Regions from separate parts of the Homo sapiens genome. Here region 1 is linked to region 2. The links are contacts of gene promoters, found by promoter capture Hi-C in human tissues and cell types (Jung and others, 2019). All regions are on one chromosome and are shown on one strand. The core of a region is centred on a gene start or on the middle of the fragment in contact, and the rest is flanking DNA. Distances in the headings are between cores, read along the strand shown. Region 1 has its middle 19 kb from the start of PLPP2. Region 2 holds the start of SHC2 (SHC adaptor protein 2).

What was found. Contacts are between HindIII fragments. The study calls those that stand out against the background at their distance.
Region 1: a fragment that was not itself captured here is called in contact with the fragment with the promoter of SHC2 in region 2 in 1 of the 25 tissues and cell types used here (H1 embryonic stem cells).

What each region holds. Positions count from the first base shown.
Region 1 is chr19:268,811-275,497 of GRCh38, reverse strand. No RefSeq gene overlaps it. Among named protein-coding and RNA genes, the nearest start is that of PLPP2, 19 kb to the left of the region's middle. RefSeq lists a silencer at 3,143-3,343. The HindIII fragment of the contact is 6,557 bases long and covers 189-6,687 here.
Region 2 is chr19:458,296-465,639 of GRCh38, reverse strand. It overlaps SHC2 (SHC adaptor protein 2), which reads left to right and starts at 4,607. Exons shown (of 13, transcript NM_012435.3): 1 at 4,607-5,111. The coding sequence starts at 4,644. CIMAP1D (CIMAP1 family member D) reads left to right here. Exons shown (of 4, transcript NM_182577.3): 4 at 1,276-2,279. The coding sequence ends at 1,796. The HindIII fragment of the contact is 8,702 bases long and covers 3,530-7,344 here.

The sequences.
Region 1 (6,687 bases), core at 2,218-4,717, 190 kb after region 2:
GGAGCAAACGTCTCACATCTACTAGTTGAAATGGAGGCCTTGATCCACAAGGAGACACATGCAGATGCACCTTTAACCCCAGAGAAGGACACCAGTGCCTGTCACCCGGGCTCTTGTGGGCCTTGTAAGGATGATATAGTTGCAATCAGTAAGGCCAATAAATTACAGATTCTGAGGACAAGAGACAGCATTGGAGCTGGGGTCATACAGAAGAGTTACCTGTGGGAAGAGATGCGGCCGCCAGATCCCAGATCTATTCTCATGAGAAGCGTTTCATGGAAGGGGTTGGCCGTGGCATGCCTGGGATAGTCACAGGGTTTACTGACTAGAAACTGTTGGAACAAGAAATTCCACATCTCTGAAGTGAAAAAGCAAATGTCCCATGGAGAGTGTCCAGAAAGAGATCTTGGCCAGGCGCGGTGGCTTACACCAGTAATCAGAACATTTTGGGAGGCCGAGGCGGGTGGATCACCTGAGGTCAGGAGTTCAAGACCAGCCTGGCCAACATAGTGAAAGTCTGTCTCTACTAAAAATGCAAAAATTAGCAGGGCATGGTGGTGGGTGCCCGTAATTCCAGCTACTCAGGAAGCTGAGGCAGGAGAATCGCTAGAACCCGGGAGACAGAGGTTGCAGTGAGCCGAGATCACGCCACTGCACTCCAGCCTGGAGCGAGGCTCCATCTCAAAAAAAAAAAAAAAAAAAAAAAAAAAAGCAAGAAGTCTTCCTAGGTTTGGTGGCTCATGCCTGTAAACCCAGCGCTTTGGGAGGCTGAGGCAGGAGGATCGCTTGAGCCCAGGAGTTTGGGGCTGCAATGAGCTACAGTGGGTACCGCTGCACTCCAGCCTGGGTGACACAGTGAGACTCTGTCTCAAAAAAAATAAACAAAAAAAAAGAAGTCTTTCCAATGGATGTGAAATCAGCAGTGTCCCCTCTGGAGTTTGAAGTTTGCCATATCGATTGACTCTTACTTCCAGAAAATATTTCTCTATAGCATGAAATACTGTTTGACAGCATTTTACGCACAATAGAACTTCTTTCAAAATTGGAGTCTATCCTGTCAAATCCTGCTGCTGCTTATCAGCTAAGTTTATGTAATATTCTTTTTTTTTTTTTTTTTTTTTTTGAGACAGGGTCTTGCTCTGCTGCCCTTGCTGGAGTGCAGTGGCGTGATCATAGCTCACTGCAGCCTTGACCTCCCTGGCTCAAGCTATCCTCCTGCCTCAGGCTCTCAAGTAGCTGGGGCTACCTGTGCAAACCACCACACCCAGCTAATCTGTAAAAAAATTTTCTGTAGAGACAGGTCTTCCTATGTTGCCCAGGTTGGTTTTGAACTCCTGGGCTCAAGCGATCCTCCTGCCTTGGCATCCCAAAGTGCCAAGATTACAGGTGTGAGCCACTGCGCCCGGCTAGGTTATGTAATAATCTAAATCCTTTGTTGTTATTTCAACAATGTTCACAGCTTCTTCACCAGGAGAATATTTCGTCTCAAGAAACTACTTTGCTAATCCATAGGAAGCACATCCTCATCCGTTCAGTTTTATCATGAGATTGTAGCAATGTACTCACATCTTCAGCTTCCACTTCTAATTCTCTTGCTATTTTCACTACAACTGTGGCTCCTTCCTTCTCTGAAGTCTTGAATCCCCCAAAGTCATTCGTGAGGGTTGGAGTCCAGTCCTTTTAAACTCCTGTTAATGTTGAGATTCTTGACCTCCTCACATGAATTAATCATAAATGTTCTTAGTGGCATCTAGAAGGTGCATCCCTTTCAGAAGGTTTTCAATTTGCTTTGCCCAGATCCATCAGGGGAATCATTATCTGTAGCAGCTGTAGCCTTACAATATGTATTTCTTGGCCAGGTGTGGTGGCTTATGCCTGGAATCTCAACACTTTGGGAGGCCGAAGCGGGTGGATCACCTGAGGTCAGGAGTTTGCGACCAGTCTGGCCATGGTCTCACCATGGTCTGGACATGGTGAAATCCTGTCTCTACTAAAAATACAAAAACTAGCCAGGCGTGGTGGTGGGTGCCTGTAGTCTCAGCTACTCGTGAGGCTGAAACAGGAGAGAATCACTTGAACCTAGGAGGCGGAGGTTGCAGTGAGCCAAGATCATGCCACTGCACTCCAGCCTGGGCAACAACAGACTGAGCAATAGGTCTCAACAGTCAGATTAAAATATTCCATAAACTAGACATTAAACAGATGTGCTGTCACCTAGGCTTGTTGTTCTATTTATAGAGCACAGACACAGTAGATTTTGCATCATTCTTAAGGGCCCTGGGTCAGAATGGTAAATGACCATTGGCTGTAAGTCACATTAGCCCCTAAGAACAGAGTCAACCTGTTCTCTAAAGCTTCGAAGCCAGGCATTGACTTCTCTTCCCCGGCTATGAAAGTCCTAGTAAGAAGGCTATTTTGTCTATGTTGAAAATATGTTGTTTAGGCCAGGCGCGGTGGCTCATGCCTGTACTCTCAGCACTTTGGGAGGGCGAGGTGGGTGGATCACAAGGTCAGGAGTTGGAGACCAGCCTGACCAATATGGTGAAACCCCGTCTCTACTAAAAATACAAAAATTAGCTGGGCGTGGTGGCGCGTGCCTGTAATCCCAGCTACTCAGGAGGCTGAGGCAGGAGAATTGCTTGAACTAGGGAGGCGGAGGTTGCAGTGAGCCGAGACTGCGCCACTGCACTCCAGCCTGGGCAACAGAGAGACACTCCATCTCAAAGAAAAAAAAAAAGAAAAGAAAATATGTTGTTTAGTGTAGCCATTTTCATCAACCGTCTTAGCTGGATCTGGATAACTTGCCTGCAATTTCTACATCAGCGCTTGCTGCTTCTCTTTTTTTTTTTTTTTTTTTTTTTTGAGACGGAGTCTCACTCTGTCGCCCAGGCTGGAGTGCAGTGGCGCCATCTCGGCTCACTGCACACCCGGCACAGGGTCATGCTTGAGCAGGGAGTTAACGCCACTTCCTTAATGGCTGAGTGTCCACTACAATTATTTGGGATTTTTCTGCATAGGAGATTTCTCTCACCCACTTTTGTTTACGTGTGTAATCATTGACCTATGCCAGTGTGGACACCTGGAGAGTTATTTCAAGTTTTGGTTACAATTCAGTACTACAGGATTTTGTTGCTTTATTCATTCCCATTTGTGTCATTGGGAGCTCTTGTTGGCTCTGGTTTTTCTTTGTCATAATCTGTGTGTGTGTGTGCTTGTGTGTATGTGTGTGTGTGTGGGGTGAGAGTGTGTGTGTCTGTGTTCTGAGCAGTTCCTTACTTTTTGATACTTCAGGATCATCCAGGCTCATGTTTTTACTGCCTTAGTTTTAGTGAAGCCATTTCTTCAAAGAGCCCTGGTTCCTTTCACTGTAGAATCGCATGAAAAACTATATTTAGGAGCTGAATGCACTCATTGCCCCTGCGGCCTCAATGCCTTTAGGTCTTACAGCTGACGTGCCAGGAAACACCTGTGTGTTTCCAACCTATGTGGACCGCCTGATTATCGAGATTTCTATGTGGAGCTGTCGGTGTCTGGATTAGGCTAAGTATGAGTTGATGCTGATGTTGCCCCTCTGGTTTATTATCACATGGATCATTGTAGCCTCCCTTTGCTAATCTGTAACCTCCCACCTCAGCAGTGAGAGACCTGCTTCCCATCATCTGCCACTTACATAAGTCACTGCTCCATTCCAGGTGGAGATACAATGGTTCAATAATTGTTTTTGTTTTGTTTTTGTTTTGAGACGGAGTCTCACTCTGTCACCAGGCTTGAGTGCAGTGGCGCGATCTCGGCTCACTGCAACCTCCGCCTCCCGGGTTCAAGTGATTCTCCTGCCTCAGCCTCCCAAGTAGCTGGGATTACAGGAACGCGTCACCACGCTCAGCTAATTTTTGTATTTTTAGTAGAGACAGGGTTTCACCATGTTGGTCAGGATTGTCTCGATCTCTTGACCTCGTGATCCACCCGCCTCGGCCTCCCAAAGTGCTGGGATTATAGGCGTGAGCCACCGCGCCTGGCCTCCAGATTCCACTAAATTCTAAAGAGACCTTTCAGGTCAGTACGTTTTGCCCTGCAGGGATTTTGTTTTAATCTTTTGTGATACAGTTAGATTCTTGGTCACATTCTGTGTTCCATCCAGGGATATTCCCACATATTAAATAATGTAATTCCACTTGCATACATTATGATTTACTCTGGGCTTTAAAATTCTATCACTTTTCACAAGTGGACAGGGACAGGTATCCACAGTTAAAGTATCACATGGAGTACTTCAAATCCCCACCGCCATGAATCCCGTGTCACCACTGATCAGTTTGCTATCTCTGTTGTTTTGCCTTTCCAGCATGTCATATAAGTGGGGACGTACAGCCTCTGCATCCTGGCTCTCTCATGAAGCAGTGTGCCTGTGAGGTCCATCCGGGTAGCGTGGATGGATAGGTCATGCCTTTCTTTCTCTCTCATGAAGCAGTGTGCCTGTGAGGTCCATCCGGGTGGCGTGGGTGGATAGGTCATGCCTTTCTTTCTCTCTCATGAAGCAGTGTGCCTGTGAGGTCCATCCGGGTGACGTGGGTGGATAGGTCATGCCTTTCTCTCTCATGAAGCAGTGTGCCTGTGAGGTCCATCCAGGTGACGTGGGTGGATAGGTCATGCCTTTCTTTCTCTCTCATGAAGCAGTGTGCCTGTGAGGTCCATCCGGGTAGCGTGGGTGGATAGGTCATGCCTTTCTTTCTCTCTCATGAAGCAGTGTGCCTGTGAGGTCCATCCGGGTGGCGTGGGTGGATAGGTCATGCCTTTCTTTCTCTCTCATGAAGCAGTGTGCCTGTGAGGTCCATCCAGGTAGCATGGGTGGATAGGTCATGACTTTCTTTCTCTCTCATGAAGCAGTGTGCCTGTGAGGTCCATCCAGGTGGCGTGGGTGGATAGGTCATGACTTTCTCTCTCATGAAGCAGTGTGCCTGTGAGGTCCATCCGGGTGACGTGGGTGGATAGGTCATGCCTTTCTTTCTCTCTCATGAAGCAGTGTGCCTGTGAGGTCCATCCAGGTGGCGTGGGTGGATAGGTCATGACTTTCTCTCTCATGAAGCAGTGTGCCTGTGAGGTCCATCCAGGTGGCATGGGTGGATAGGTCATGACTTTCTCTCTCATGAAGCAGTGTGCCTGTGAGGTCCATCCAGGGAGCGTGGGTGGATAGGTCATGACTTTCTCTCTCATGAAGCAGTGTGCCTGTGAGGTCCATCCAGGTGACGTGGGTGGATAGGTCATGCCTTTCTTTCTCTCTCATGAAGCAGTGTGCCTGTGAGGTCCATCCGGGTGACGTGGGTGGATAGGTCATGCCTTTCTTTCTCTCTCATGAAGCAGTGTGCCTGTGAGGTCCATCCAGGTGGCGTGGGTGGATAGGTCATGACTTTCTCTCTCATGAAGCAGTGTGCCTGTGAGGTCCATCCAGGTGGCATGGGTGGATAGGTCATGACTTTCTCTCTCATGAAGCAGTGTGCCTGTGAGGTCCATCCAGGGAGCGTGGGTGGATAGGTCATGACTTTCTCTCTCATGAAGCAGTGTGCCTGTGAGGTCCATCCGGGTAGCGTGGGTGGATAGGTCATGCCTTTCTTTCTCTCTCATGAAGCAGTGTGCCTGTGAGGTCCATCCAGGTGGCGTGGGTGGATAGGTCATGACTTTCTCTCTCATGAAGCAGTGTGCCTGTGAGGTCCATCCGGGTAGCGTGGGTGGATAGGTCATGCCTTTCTTTTGCTGAATAGCATTCCATTGCACCGCATACTTCAGTTTGGTTATGCATTCAGCTACTGAAGAATGTCATGATTCCTTTAATTTTTGGCTATTATGAATAGTGCTTCTATACATGTGTGTGCTGGTTTTTACTTGGACATAATTTTTCAAGGCAGTTGTCTAAATACCTAAGAAGGAGATTGTTGGATCAGATGGTGAGACTTGTTTAGTTTTTGGAAAAACTGCTGAAGTGACTGTACCCTTATGCCTTCCCCCAGCAATGAATGAGACCTCCTATTGCAATTGCTACTGTTCTTTAGATTTTAGCCATTTTAATAGATGTACAGTACTATCTCATTTAATCTGCTTTTCCCTCAGGACAAGTTTGTTGAGAATTAATTAATTTGGATGCTTATTTGGCATCTGTGCATCTTCTTTGCTGAGGTGTCTTTTCAGATCTTCACATATTTTCAATTGGGTTGTTCATCTAATTCTTTTTGAGTTTTAGAGGTTTTTTTTAAAAAAAAATATTTTGCAGACAAGTCCTTTTTCGGATGTGTTTCCCAAATATTTTCTTTTTTTTTCTTGAGACAGGGTCTTACTCCATCACCCAGGCTGGAGTGCAGTGGTGCGATCTCAGCTCACTGCAACCTCTGCCTCCTGGGTTCAAGCAATTCTCCTGCCTCAGCCTCCCGAGTAACTGAGATTACAGGCGTGTGCCACCACATCCAGCTAATTTTTTTTGTTTTGTTTTGTATTTTTAGTAGAGACGGGGTTTCACCATGTTGGCCAGGCTAGTCTCGAACTCCTGACCTCAAATGATCCACCCACTTTGGCCTCCCAGAGTGCTGCGATTATGGGTATGAGCCACCTTGCCCGGCTGTTTCCCAAATATTTTCTATCAATCAGTCTGTGAATTGCTTTTTTGTTCTCTTAACCAGAGCAGCCATTTTAAATTTTAAT
Region 2 (7,344 bases), core at 3,358-5,857:
CATCCATCCACACACCCATCCACACACCGACCTGCACCCATCCACCCACCCACCTGCCTGCCCATCTACCTATCCACTCATCCATCTATCCATCCACCCACCTACCCATCTATCCACTCACCCATCCAGCCAACCATTCACCCATCCACTCACCCATCCACCCACCCACCCATCTATCCACCCACCCACTCATCCATCCAACCATCTACTCACCTACCCATCAATCCACACACCCATCCACCCGCCCATCCAACCACATACCCATCCATCCACCCATCCACCTACCCATTCATCCATCCACTCACTCATCCATCCATCCATCTACACATCCATCCATCCCCCATCCACCCACTCATCATCCATCCATCCATCCATCCATCCACCCATCCACCCGCCCCTCCTTCCACCATCCACCCAACATTCTATCCACCCATCCATCCACTCATCCATTGACCCACCTAGCATCTACCCACCCAGCCATCCACCCACCCACCCATCCATCCATCCACTCATCAACCCATCCATCCATCCACCCACTCACCCATCCACCTATCCATCCTTCCACCCACCCATCCATCCATCCATCATCTATCCACCCATCCACTCACTCATCCATCCATCCATCCGCCCACCCTCCCACCCATTCAGCCACCCACCTACCCACTCATCTATGAATCCTTCCTTTTTTCCTTCTACCTATCAACCGTTCCATCCATCCATCCATCCATCCATCCATCCATCCATCCATCATCCACTCATCCATCCATTTACAAATCCCTTCATGAACCATTCACTCCCCGCTCAACCACTCACCTCCTACCTATCCTGTTCACCCATCAACTCAGACAGTCAACTGCTGGAGAGTTGGAGTAAATTTGACATGCCTTCCTTTTTATGGGATCCCAGTCTGGTGGGGCAGTTAGATGCAGGTGCAGACCATCCCACCTCAGTGTGCTCACGTCTGGAGAGAGGGGAAAACCCAGGCTGTGGGGCTCTGGAAGGGCTGTGAGGGCTCTACCCTGGATGGGCTGGGGAAGGCAGCAGGGAGGAGGGGTGGAAAATGAAGGCGTGCTTGGCCCTGGGTCCAGCTTGGGCAAAGTCCTGGAGGCTTGAAACACAGACCATGTGTATGGAGGATGGGGAAGGGAGAGAAAGGCACCCAGGCTGCTTGAGAAGCGTTGTAAGCTCCAGGGTGCATGTGGGCCATGGGGAGCCAGGCCGGGTCTCTGGGCAGGTGAGGACATCAGTGCCACCTTTCCTTCCCCACTCTCTCAGGTCCGGAGGTGACGCCAGGCCCTGGGGCCTACAGCCCAGAGAAGGTGCCCCCTGTGCGCCATCGGACACCGCCGGCTTTCACCCTGGGCTGCCGCCTCCCCCTGAAGCCCCTGGACACCTCAGCCCCTGCCCCTAATGCCTACACCATGCCCCCTCTGTGGGGCTCACAGATCTTCACCAAGCCCAGCAGCCCCAGCTACACGGTGGTGGGCCGCACCCCCCCCGCCCGCCCCCCGCAGGATCCTGCTGAGATACCAGGCCCGGGCCAGTACGACAGCCCGGACGCAAACACCTACCGCCAGCGCCTGCCTGCCTTCACCATGCTGGGGCGGCCCCGGGCCCCGCGACCCCTGGAGGAGACCCCCGGCCCTGGCGCCCACTGCCCAGAGCAGGTCACCGTGAACAAAGCCAGGGCTCCAGCGTTCTCTATGGGCATCCGCCACTCGAAACGGGCCAGCACCATGGCCGCCACCACGCCCTCCCGGCCTGCGGGGCACAGGCTGCCCGGCCGCTGCTGCTAGGCCAGGCCTGTTTCCCACACAGTGAACGGGGGGCTGGCGGGCCTCTCCTGGGGCCTGGCTTTGGCTGGAGGGGCTAGAAGGCGAGAGGGGCTGGGAAAGGAGTCTTCCCTCCCCTTTCCTGAACTGTCCAGGTCCTTCTAGGACACCTGATCCTTCCAGTCCCTGGGGGCTGTGACCCATGGCCCTGTGCAGGGTGCAGGGTGAGTCTCCTTCCAGTGCCCCAGTTTCTTCCAGGTCACGCCAGGCCAGGCCAGGCCAGGTGGGGAAAGGGACACCTTCCGGCCCTCCCCAGTAGCTGGCTGGAGATGGAGCTTCCTGTGTCCCAGAACTCGGCGTCCAGCTCCACTAGGGCCTGGATCCCCATCACAGCTTGGGTTAGCCCCGGTCCCAGCCCAAACTCAGGCTGGAGGCAGCCCCGAGGCCTGTGCCTTTCCCACTCCACCTTCTACAGTTGCTTAGCCAATAAACCTTTCCTGGGCTGGAGAGCTGTCAGCATCACATGTGCTTACTCATTTAATGTGTCTTTTTTTTTTTTTTTTTTTTGAGACGGAGTCTCGCACTCCCGCCCAGACTGAAGTGCAGTGGCGCGATCTCGGCTCACTGCAAGCTCCGCCTCCCGGGTTCACGCCATTCTCCTGCCTCAGCCTCCCGAGTAGCTGGGACTACAGGCGCCCGCCACCACGCCTGGCTAATTTTTTGTATTTTTAGTAGAGATGGGGTTTCACCATGTTAGCCAGGATGGTCTCGATCTTCTGACCTTGTGATCCTCCTGCCTTGGCCTCCCAAAGTGCTGGGATTACAGGCATGAGCCACCGAGCCCGGCCTTAACGTGTCTATTGATGTCACAGAAAAGAGACCCGAACGCCGCCCTCCAGAGCCAGACCCGTAGCCCTCCAGTGGCCAGGGGGTCTGAGAGACCAGAAGAGAGACCCAGGGCGAGGGGAGGCCGGAGGTGGAGCCAAGCTTTTGAGCAGGCAGCCAGGTAGGCTTCCTGGAAGAGGCAATATTGAAGCTGGGTTTTGAAGGATGTATAGGAGCTTGAGGTATTCTAATATCTGCCATCAGTAGCTGCTTGCTATGTTTTGGATATTAATAAAGATCATCTAGGCTTCATAGCAACTCAGGACCAGGGGCATCTACTGAGAGGAAATGGTGCTTTGGAGAGACTGGACATTTGTCCTGGGGCATGCTGTGAGCCCCCACCTCAGTCTGATGTCAGGATTTGAACTCTGGATGTTGGACTGAGTTCCTGCCACTGTCTCCAAGGGACAGGAAGGAAACACACCGGGGGTGCCGTGTGACTGAGCCCTCTGTGTGCCAGGGAGGGATGGCACCTGGACCACCTTACAAACCTCCCATCCAGAAAGACCCTAATCCCGGAGCTTGGGAGGGTGCGACACTGCCCCGGGACCTCCCTGAGGGATGCAGCCTGGGAGGCATGCAGGGCGCAGAGAGGGGGTGGTGGGGCTGCTCTCTCCTCAGCCCACAGCCCTCAGCCTAGGGCCGCCAAACCTGTCCCACCCTTTACCCATTAGGTGAACACACCCCAGGACCCAGCAGCCTGGATCCCCTGCATATGCCTGGACACGCACCCAGACACAGCGTACACCCTGCGCACAACACACACACCGCGCGCAGGTCCAGCCGCGGCTCCAGCCCGACCAATCGCGCCCACGATCTGCTCCTCCCGCGGACGCGCAGGGGCTGAGTCCGACACGCGCCGCGGCAGAGACGGCCGATCGCGACCGCGCGCCTCGCTCCCCTCCCCCACCTCCCCGGCCCCGCGGGCGGCGCCGGCTGTGATCTCATCCCCTGAATTATCGATCGGGCTCCGGGCAGCCTCGCCCCTCCCTCCCTCCCCACCTGCCAGCGCGTCCCGGCCCCTCCCTTTGTTCCCGGCAATCAGCCCTGCTTGGGGCGGGGCAGGTGCAGGGGAGCTCCAGCCAAGTCGGGCCAGGAGGCTGGGTCCCGGGGTGACAGTGACACCCCGTTTTCTGGTGCAGAAGGAACCGACCCTTGAGGCCAGGGAAGGTGCGGCCGGTCTCGGAGAGGTTGAGGCTGGGGATGGAGCGACCGGCCTGGGAGGCTGAGGCCCAGAGCTCAGATGAGCTGGTGCGGGACTGGGCTCCCCAGAAGTGAGGGAAGAAGGGCCGCGACCCTCCAGCCCGCTCCCCTGAGTTACAGCCGGAGAAACTGAGGCCGGGACAGGCCGCAGAGCAGGGGCCCGGCTCCGCTCCTAGCCCCGCCCCCCCCCCCCACCCCCGAGCCGGCACTCCTGGGTTTGAGCTTCGTCTGTGAGCCCTCGGCCGCGCCCCTTCCCCTCCCCGCGCCTCAGTTTCCCCACTAAGAAATAGGGGTGACCCTAAGGTACCTTCTAGCTGCAACAACGGAGAGGGAGGGGCTGACCTTAGGGTCTGGGGTTCTCTTTTCCCTGGCCGCGCCTCCCGGGGCCTCAGTTTCCCCACTAGGAAATAGGGGAAAGAAGGGATGTGGAATTTCTAAGCTTCTCCAGCTCGGTCCTTCTGCGAACTTGGGCGGCGGGCGGGGGTGGGGGGCGCAGCGGGGAGGGTCGCTGACGGGGTTCTGGGTTCAAAGCCCCGTCCCGCCTTGGCTGCGGGTTCCAGGCCAGCGCCCGGTGTCCTCGGAGGGCCTCAGTTTCCCCAGCCTCGCGGCCAGGCTCCGGGACGAGGAGGGCCGGGGTCCCAGGGGCGCAGCCCCCCGCGGCTGCGCGCTGGGCCGGGCGGATGACATCACCGGGCCGGGGGGCGGGAGGGAGCGGGCGGAGCGGGAGGGCTTCCTCCGCGCCAGGCGCAGCGCCCGGTCGGGCTCCGTCGGGCGGCCGCGGCCATGACGCAGGGTCCGGGCGGGCGCGCGCCCCCGGCGCCCCCCGCGCCCCCCGAGCCCGAGGCGCCCACCACCTTCTGCGCGTTGCTGCCCCGAATGCCGCAGTGGAAGTTCGCGGCCCCGGGCGGCTTCCTGGGCCGCGGCCCGGCGGCGGCGCGGGCGGCTGGGGCCTCGGGGGGCGCGGACCCCCAACCCGAGCCGGCGGGCCCGGGGGGCGTCCCGGCGCTGGCGGCCGCCGTCCTGGGCGCCTGCGAGCCCCGCTGCGCCGCGCCCTGTCCCCTGCCCGCGCTCAGCCGCTGTCGGGGCGCGGGGTCGCGGGGGTCGCGGGGCGGGCGGGGGGCGGCGGGGTCCGGGGACGCCGCCGCCGCCGCCGAGTGGATCCGGAAGGGCAGCTTCATCCACAAACCCGCGCACGGCTGGCTACACCCCGACGCCAGGGTCCTGGGGCCCGGGGTCTCCTACGTCGTGCGGGTGAGTCCCCCCCACCCCCCCCGGGAGCCCGTTCGCGGCGGCCTCCCCTCCCCCACCCTCTCCTCCGGGACCCCCGGACCCCGCGAGCCAGGTGTCCCCTCCCCATCCTTCCTGCTCTCCCGCCACCCCGGACCCCCATCCCCGGCCGGCGGCCGGCGGCTGCCCCCACCCGGAGGCGCTGGGGTCCGGGTTCCCACGGCGTCACGTGGGGAGGGGCGGGGAGAGGGCGGCGGGGGAGGGGCGCGCATGCGCAGGTGCACCGCCCCCCACTCGGACTGGGCGGGCGAGGCCGAGAGCGGCGAGCGGCCGGGGCGTCTCTGCCACCGGAGCCCCCCGGACAGCTGTTCACGAATGACAGACGGGGCCCGAGACGCTGGCCTGCGGTGGGGGTGCGGGAAGGGGTGTTTGGAAAGGGGCTGGCGCCCGGACAGACCCCAGGATTCCAGATGGGAGGCAGCAGGGACTTCCAGGGCGGCCAAGGAAGCGGCCTTTGTTTATTTACCTTGGGTCTTATGATAAATGAACCTTTTCAAACACACGGGGAAGTCGGGCGCCTGGACACAGCACGCCTCCACCTAGGAGGGTAACCTTCCCCTCTGCTGACGGGTCTGCCCCTCTCTGTGGTTTATAGTAAACCGTGTGAAGTCACCTGCAGGGGTGACAGCGCCGTGCATAGTCCCCCGTCTTCTGAGAGAGCAGCTGTCCTACAGCTGCAGTCATTACGGCGTCTGGGAAAATGATCAGCCACTCCCGCACGCCACTACCGGTGGGTGCTCCCAGCTCCTCCCGGCCTCTGCGGCCAGGAACATTAGCCTGTGTTCACATTGGGTTGTGTCTTTGCTTTTCTGGACACTGAGTTCAGTAGGGTCCTTCCCTCTACACTGAGTTGAGAAGGGTCCTTCCCCTTACACTGAGTTCAGTGGGGTCCTTCCCCCTACGCTGAGTTCAGTGGGGTCCTTCCCCCTACGCTGAGTTCAGTAGGGTCCTTCCCTCTACACTGAGTTGAGAAGGGTCCTTCCCCCTACGCTGGGTTCAGTGGGGTCCTTCCCCCTACGCTGAGTTGAGAGGGGTCCTTCCCCCTACGCTGGGTTCAGTGGGGTCCTTCCCCCTACGCTGGGTTCAGTGGGGTCCTTCCCCCTACGCTGGCTTCAGTGGGGTCCTTCCCCCTACGCTGGCTTCAGTGGGGTCCTTCCCCCTACGCTGGGTTCAGTGGGGTCCTTCCCCCTACGCTGGCTTCAGTGGGGTCCTTCCCCCTACACCGAGTTGAGAGGGGTCCTTCCCCCTACGCTGGGTTCAGTGGGGTCCTTCCCCCTACGCTGGGTTCAGTGGGGTCCTTCCCCCTACACCGAGTTGAGAAGGGTCCCCCTACAATTCCTGTGCCGTAGGAGTCTGACCTTATTACCTTATATTGGGAACAGGGTCCTTGCAGATGTAACCTAGTCAAGATGAGGCCTACCTGGATCAGGGGTCTCTGTAAGGAGAAGGAACTTTAGACTCAGATGCACAGAGGAGCGGGCCGTTAGGAGACAGGCAGAGGTGGGGGCCTCAAGCCCGGGCCCACCAAAGCCTGTGGGAGCCCCCAGAAGCTGGCTGTGAAACCTCACTCCCCCACGTGTGGTCCCCAGGCGCGCTCGGCCTGCGCAGTACAACCGGCTTCTGCCTCCCCAGGACCCGCTTCCGCCTCCCCGGAACCCTCTTCCGCCTCCCCAAGACCCGCTTCCGCCTCCCCAGGACCCGCTTCCGCCTCCCCGGAACCCGCCTCCGCCTCCCCGGGACCCGCTTCCGCCTCCCCGGAACCCACTTCCGCCTCCCCAAGACCCGCTTCCGCCTCCCCGGAACCCGCTTCCCCCTCCCCCGGAACCCACTTCCGCCTCCCCAAGACCGGCTTCCGCCTCCCCGGAACCCGCGTCCGCCTCCCTGGAACCCACTTCCCCGTCCCCCGGAACCCGCTTCCGCCTCCCCAGGACCCGCTTCCACCTCCCCGGAACCCGAATCCGCCTCCCCAGGACCCGCTTCCGCCTCCCCGGAACCTGCTTCCCCGTCCCCCGGAACATGCGTCTGCCTCCCCGGAACCCACTTCCGCCTCCCCAAGACCCGCTTCTGCCTCCCCAGGACCCGCTTCCGCCTCCCCGGAACCCGATTCCGCCTCCCCGGGACCCGCTTCCGCCTCCCCGGAACCCGCTTCTGTCTCCCCGGAACCCGCTTCCGCCTCCCCAAGACCCGCTTCCGCCTC